Linked DNA regions of Homo sapiens: region 2 is linked to region 1. Evidence: promoter capture Hi-C in human tissues and cell types (Jung and others, 2019). All regions are on one chromosome and are shown on one strand. Each heading gives the region's core, a stretch centred on a gene start or on the middle of the fragment in contact. The rest is flanking DNA. Distances are from core to core; before and after follow the strand shown. Region 1 holds the start of EPHA6 (EPH receptor A6). Region 2 has its middle 55 kb from the start of EPHA6.

Evidence for each region. The method cuts DNA at HindIII sites, captures the fragments that hold promoters and counts their contacts. A contact is called where the count stands out against the background at its distance.
Region 2: a fragment that was not itself captured here is called in contact with the fragment with the promoter of EPHA6 in region 1 in 1 of the 25 tissues and cell types used here (H1 embryonic stem cells).

What each region holds. Positions count from the first base shown.
Region 1 is chr3:96,812,899-96,816,697 of GRCh38, forward strand. EPHA6 (EPH receptor A6) reads left to right here and starts at 1,696. Exons shown (of 18, transcript NM_001080448.3): 1 at 1,696-2,110. The coding sequence starts at 1,726. LOC124909397 (a long non-coding RNA gene) reads right to left here and starts at 1,509. Exons shown (of 2, transcript XR_007095974.1): 1 at 1,137-1,509; 2 at 1-212. RefSeq lists silencers at 532-601, 662-781. The HindIII fragment of the contact is 14,633 bases long and covers 1-3,799 here.
Region 2 is chr3:96,757,451-96,761,249 of GRCh38, forward strand. No RefSeq gene overlaps it. Among named protein-coding and RNA genes, the nearest start is that of EPHA6, 55 kb to the right of the region's middle. The HindIII fragment of the contact is 7,205 bases long and covers 1-3,799 here.

The DNA.
Region 1 (3,799 bases), core at 446-2,945:
GGCTCCATCTCCCGCTCCCCTGACCTCTTGTCACTGTGCCATTTCCCTCCTGTGCTTTCTGCCCACTTGGAAAATATCGTATATCCTTTACAAGACCGCTACTTTCTCTCCTCTGTTCACATTTCTCCATTACCATCCACATTTTCTCAAAACATTCCGACGGGTTTTGAAGTGGGGTTTTCAACCTCCCTCGACTGTGATAGCCGAAGTCCCTTCAAGAAAGAAAAATGATGTTGGAAATACTAGTAACAAATAAAGTATCACGGAAATCCCCACCCAAGCGATACGGTTTCCTTGACGCGCCCTTAACCAAGGCGTTAAGTTTAGCCTGACAGCATCCCTCCCTCCTTTCGGTTCCTGGCCTGATGAGCCGCCTCCACCTGCGAGCGGTGCAGGCATTTTTGTTGTCGACTAACCCCCTCTAGCGCCGAACTGGCGGCATCCGAGCCGCGGCTGCCAGGCCGGGAGAAGGCTGGGCTTGGCCGGGCTCTGCAGCGCTCCGGGCTCCGTCCCTGCCCTGGGCGCCCGCCTCCGCCGCGGGGCGAGGTGGTGGAGACCGCGGACGCCGAGGGTCCTCCCAGTCAGCACGCCGCGTTGCCCCGGCCCTGGGGCGGGGGCCGCGGAGTCCCACCAAGTGGCCCGCGCCTCGGCTTCCGGGAGACCCGAGCGCGGGGAGGGAGTGGGTGCCGCGAGGGGGCGGCTCGCGCGGGGAGAGCCGTCAGCCCACGGCGCCCCTGCGCTGCTGTGGATGTGGCCACGCGCCACTCGGCCCTTGGACTGCTAGGAGAGCGCGGCCCGACGCCACCACGCCGTGGACGCTCGGGGACCCCTGAATCCCAGCGTCAAGGCTGCGACGATGCTCGTGACCTCCACCGCGAAGTCACCTCCGCAAGGCGACGCAAGGACCTCGGCGATCCCGGGCGCCGTACACCCGCCACTTTCCAGCCTCATGTAACCCCCCCTCTGCTGCTTCCTCCCGGCGCTTTGCTTTTCTACAACTGGAAGCCGCGAAGGCGGCTACTGCGCTGAGCCGCTCGCTCTGCTGGTCAAGTTTGGGCGACCCGCGCGGAGGAGGGTCGGGCTGACTGCCGCCGCTGAGCTGTCCCCGGACGGGAGCGCCTGTCCACGGCACTCACCCCCTCCAGCGGTGGAAATGTGGAGAAGTAAGTGGGAGGCGGTGTCGGGAACTGACTCCTCTTAAAACGGTCGGCGCCGCTGCTCTGAAATGGGCGGCTAAGTGCTTGTGGGACTAAGGGCGGCCTCAGAGATGCCCGGAAAATCGCTGCCACGGCCAGAGTGCGGCGCAGACGCGGCAGAGTTGGAGGTGTCCGCGGTGCAGGCTGCTGCCCACGCCGCTCAGGCCAGGTGCTGAGGGCTCAGCCCGCGCCTCGGCCGAACCACTCTCAGCCCCGTTGAGCCACCTCGTCCGCCCGGCTTTCATCGCACCGGCCAGAGGAAAGTTCCCGCGGCCCCCACGCCTCTTCACAGCTGCAGCGCCTCCCCTGCTTTTGGCTCCGCAAGTGCCCACTTGAGTCGGGAGAGGTCCTCGGGCCGCCCCAACTGCCCGCCCCACCTGGCAGTCCGTCCCCGCCCCCGTCCTCGCGGTGAGGCGCTCCCCGCCCCCTCGCTCCCCTCCCCCAAACCACAGCCCGAGCTCGCTCTTGCGCGCGCGCGCTCTCTCCGGCCCAAGTGAATAGTCCTCGCGCAAGCGGGACACTGTGGTGGATGCAATTCCCCTCGCCTCCAGCCGCGAGGAGCTCCCCGGCGCCGCAGGCAGCGTCCTCCTCCGAAGCAGCTGCACCTGCAACTGGGCAGCCTGGACCCTCGTGCCCTGTTCCCGGGACCTCGCGCAGGGGGCGCCCCGGGACACCCCCTGCGGGCCGGGTGGAGGAGGAAGAGGAGGAGGAGGAAGAAGACGTGGACAAGGACCCCCATCCTACCCAGAACACCTGCCTGCGCTGCCGCCACTTCTCTTTAAGGGAGAGGAAAAGAGAGCCTAGGAGAACCATGGGGGGCTGCGAAGTCCGGGAATTTCTTTTGCAATTTGGTTTCTTCTTGCCTCTGCTGACAGCGTGGCCAGGCGACTGCAGTCACGTCTCCAACAACCAAGGTAAGGGACGGGGCGGAGGAGCGGGAGTGGGTGGGAGGAGGAGGGTGCTTGGAGAACCAGGGTACTGGTTGCCTCCTGCAGGTAACTTTGTACAGGGGTCAGAGTCTCCTGGCTCGCCACACGAGGGGATCGAGGATGTCCCCTTACCCTAGCGCCCTGTTTACACCGCCCGGGACGGTGACTCCACAGGCTAGGATCCGTTGTGTTTCTAAATGTCTTTAAACGGTAGCGTGAGCATCAGCTGCAGTTGGGTCCCACCGCTAGCGGCCGTGGGACCGCTCCCCGCTGCGCTGTCTCCACTGGAAGTCAGGCTCCGTGGCACAGACTTAATGGAGACTTCTGGCTCTTTGGTGGTCGCTCTTCTCAGGGGAACGTGTGGTTCTCCCACATGCCTTCTTGAAAGGCAGGGTGCTCCCGCTGTACCCCGTGACCAGTTATCAGTCTTTCCCCACCCCTCCGGTGACTGCCGCCCTCGCCCAGCCTCAGTCCCCATGCTTCATCTACCATCCAGGCCACCGAAGTAGACTTACTCGAAATTCTTCCTAGACCAGATGCTCCAGATCTGTGTAGGGGTTTCATATTCTTGCGGGCAGGGAGTAGAAAAGGGTTTAGGGTGAATTTCCAAGTTGTGAATACCCTATTCATGAAGTCAAGTCACTGACAGATTGCTTGGAGGACTTTGTTTCGGTGGGTAAAGTGGTAAAGTGAAGGTAAATAGTGGTTAAAAAGTGATGGAAAGCCCTTGGAATATTTGAGCATTTTCCCTTTTTCTATTCATACAATCTTCATGAAATATATCTCCTTGTATTTCTGCTGTGCATAAAGATCTATAAAAAGTACCACCTGCATATTCTAAGTCCTTTCAGACTAAGCATGAAACAACCATAAAAGTTTCCCAGCATGTATCTGGCTAGATATTCTCTCACTCGTGCTGTAATGACCAACCGATATGTCCCTTCAAATATTATGTGTGGTAGTCAGTTATAGTTATCATTTAACACATAAGGCATATGTTTCAGAGTCTCGAAGTAATTTGCAGGTATAAAAATGGAGGTCAGATGGCTTGAAAGTGTTCACTTTTTGTGTGAGGAGAAGGTTAAGGGAGAAGATAAACAACACAGCATTCTTCTTTGTCATCAACATATATGGCCATTTTACTTAGAAATGTTCAGAATCAGAATAAAATATAATTATTAAATTGTTCTCATTTATACAGTGGTACTTTGGCATATTTTCCTAATTATTACAGTTATTTTAAACTGACAGAATGCAATCACAAATGTGTAGGTGAATTTGGAAACCATACATAACCTTCATGGCTTTGAAGATAGATCACATAATAGATATCAGTTACAGTGTCCTGTTTTGCTGTGGTGGTATATACCATCACACTACATCCCTCATTTATTTTCAAAGACTGTGGGTATAAAATATTGAATAGGTAGTTAACTTCATTTCTGTGAAGGTAGAAGATTGTTAAAAAACGTGTAACGATTACCCTTTTTTATTATGACAAAACAATTTTTAATAATTGGAAAGTCAGACATTGATACTGTACTTTATAATAGTAAGTAAGGATACTAGAGATGAATACTTTGAGAGTCAAGTGTACTAGAAGTTTGTAACAGTTGTTCCCATGCAATAATTTCCCCAAACAATGTTTATTTATTTAAATACCTATGATGCATC
Region 2 (3,799 bases), core at 374-2,873, 56 kb before region 1:
ATTATGAAATGATTACCACCAGAAAGCCAATTAACACATCCTTCACCTCACATTGTTAACTCCATGTGTGTATGATGAGAATACTTGACATCTATTATCTTTGTAAATTCCAAGTACACATTATTAACTAAAGGCACCATGCTATATATTAGGTCTCCAGAACTTATTTTATGACCAAAAGTTTGTTCCCTTTGAATAACATCTTCCCATTCTACCACCCCCACCTCCAACCCAAAACCCCCAGCCCCTTATATTCACCCTTCTACTCTCTGTTTCTATTAAGATGACTTTTTTAGACTCCACATATAAGTGATTTCAGGTGGTATTTGTCTTTCTGTGTCTGGCTTTTTTCACTTAGCATAACATCTTCCAGCTTCATTCATATAATCCCAAGTGGTAGGATTTTCTTCTTTTTGAAGGCTGCAGAATATTCCATTGTGTGTATATACCATTTTTTCTTTATCCACTTATCCACTGATGAACACTTAGATTGATTCCACACCTTGGCCACTGTGAATAATGCTGCAATGAACATGGGAGTGAAATCATCTCTTAACATACTGATTTCATATCCTTTTGATATGTACCCCATAGTGGGATTGCTTAGATCATATATATGGTGTTTCTATTTTTAGTTTTTTGAAGGACCTCCATGATACTTTCCATAATGGCTGTATTAATTTACATTCCCACCAACATGTATAAGCGTTCCCTTTTCTCCTCATCCTCACCAACACTTATTTTTCATTGCACTGATAATAGCCATCCTTACATATGTCAGCTGATATCTCATTGTGATTTTAATTTGTACTTCAATGATAATTAGTGATGTTGAGTAGCTTTTCATATGCCTACTGGTCCTCTGTATGTTTTCATTAGAAAAATTTCTTTTGGAGTCATTTGCACATTATTTAATTGGGTTTTTTAGGTATTTGCTGTTGAGTTGTATGAGTTTCCTACATATTTTGATGAACCTTTATGAGATAAATTATTTGAAAATATTTCATCCCATTCCATAGACTGCCTTTTCATTTTCTTAAGTTGTTTCTTTTATTGGGCAGAAAATTTTTAGTTTGATATAGTTTCATTGGTTTTAGTTTTGTTGCTTGTGCTTTTGGTGTCATGTCCAAAAAATCATTATTTTAAATGGCTTAAATTAAGTGAAAAATATTTTACTCAATAATACAGAAAATATTATTTATTCTGAAATAAAGTATTTAAAAGTGAAATGAATTAATGCAGAAAATAGTTTCATTTTTCATAACATGTTGAAATCTTAAATATAGAAATCACTATCTGGCATTTCCACTTTACTAAATTTTCCTCTACATTTTCAATTGATGCTTCTGAAAGACACTTTTGATAATACAAGTCCCTCTAGTGGCATCTGATATGAACATTGTAATACATATAAAAAGTGTTTTTTTTTTAGTGCTTAGAAAACATGTTAAGACAGTTACAAATTTATTAAATTTAGAAATGATAGTACCATCAGTCATTAATTTGTTGTAATATTTATTCACTATGATATGTAACATATATTTATTGTCTTAAATTAATTTTAAAATTGATAAATAAGAATATTGCATTTTCTTACTTAAAAGGGATAGTTCGATAGAGGGAAATGTACTTATTGAGCACCTAGTCTGTGCTATGTGCTATATCTATTAACTCATTAAATTTGATCAACAACCAGGTTATAGAGCAGATTTTGTCACTTCCACTTTAAAGAAAATAAAACTCAGAAAACAATAAAACTCTATAAGTCATCTGTCTAATTAGTGACAGAGCAAAGAGCTCATGTGCAGATTTGTCTAAGCCATTTTTTACTCCACATTTCACTTAAAATATAACTGTTTAAAAATGAAAAGAAAGACTGGCATATAACCAGAAAAATTTGACAGCTAATTCTAAACTGACAAGTAGAAGGGCAATACTAAGCTGTAAGAAGGTGAATCGTTCAAAAAGAGGTTTTTAAATCTCAGGAATTTTGATGTACCTAAATTAGCTCTCTCTCACTCTCTCACACATTTTTCTTCTTAACCAAACTATATCTTACTGAAAGGTAAATGGATAAGTATTTTGTTTCATTTTAAATGAAATTTTGAATTTGATCAGCTAGTTTACTGTACTTATATTATTCACACTCTGATTTCAGTTGAAATGATATAAGTGATACCTCATGGTAAGCAATATCACTCCATGTCCAGATGCAAATACAATATACAAAATTTGTTTAATAGGACATTTCTTATCACAATCTTGATTTTTAGTTTAAGAAGCCAACAAAAAGAAGTATCGTTGCATGGGAGATGTGAAATACCAATTTTGAAAATTTTCCCCCAATTTTCCTAAAACGAAGTACAAAATATCAAATTGTTTACAATTCTGCTTTATATTTTATTTAAGGTGTAACCTCTGAATTATTATTTATTATTCACATTACTAGGTCTGAGTAATATTTTAGTATCATGTCCTTTTAAAAGTAGATTTATCCTGGCTAACGTGGTGAAACCCCGTCTGTACTAAAAATACAAAAAAATTAGCCGGGCATGGTGGCAGGCGCCTGTAGTCCCAGCTACTCCGGAGGCTGAGGCAGGAGAATGGTGTGAACCTGGGAGGCGGAGCTTGCAGTGAGCCAAGATCGCGCCACTGCACTCCAGCCTGGGCGACAGAGCGAGACTCTGTCTCAAAAAAAAAAAAAAAAAAGGGTAGATTTAACATTTGCTCATTAACAATGTGCCCCAAAACTGACAGTCCTTGAAGCAATGAAAAAATAATATATTCATAGTATTGCTTATTTTTAACATTTTCATAGTATCACTTATTTTAAAACTATCCTTGTGATGCCAGATCTTTCTCTGTGCTGGGAAGTAAAATCTCTGTAAAGCAAAAATAAAATTCTAAACCCTCAATTCACTAAATGGACCCTCTTATCAGCCAAGGGAGCCCAACTAAACCTGAGAAAGCACTTCTGACCATGAGGTGAAGGAGGTATCAGACATGCTCATAAACTCTCCTCCCTTTGGGAGTTTGGGCGCATAACTAACCAGCATTAACTTTAAAACAGAGATCCTACGACTGGTAGAACAGACTCTTTGTAGCAATAAGATACTAAATTCCAACCTGGCTATAGAATAGCATCAAATGACAGACAGCAGGGCCCTTAAGGAATTCAAAATATTTTACCACAAAATATGTTTCTTTGACATATTTTAAAATGATTCTGCAAAGTTGACTCTTGTGGGGGAAATTTACATTCTACAGAATCCCTTTCCTTTCCAGGTCTCTTTCTGATCCTGAAAAGATTGGCTGAGAGTCTAGCACATTTTAAAGTCTTAATAGGAAACATTTGCTATCTATTGCCCCTGGGGGTGACCATCTATGAGACTTCATCAAAATAATAAGAACTTTGGTCTCCACAACCCCTTATCTTAACCTAGACACTCCTTTCTATTGATTCCAGGTCTTTAGGTAATAACTTAACTTTTTCATCCAATTGCCAACCACAAAAGCTTTGAATCCACTTAAGACCTCTAAGCCTCTATTTGGAGTTGTCCTGCCTTTCTGGACCAAACCAATGTATACTTCACATGTACTGATTGATGTTTTATGTCTCGCTAAAACATATAAAAGCAAGCTATAATCCAACCACGTTGGGCACATGTTCTCAGAACCTCCTGAGGCTGTGCCACAGGTTATGATTCATAACCCTGGCAAAACACAATTCTAAACTGATTGAGACTTGTCTCAGACACTTTTTGGTTTACATCACAAATAAGATCTGGAGTTAGCTGCC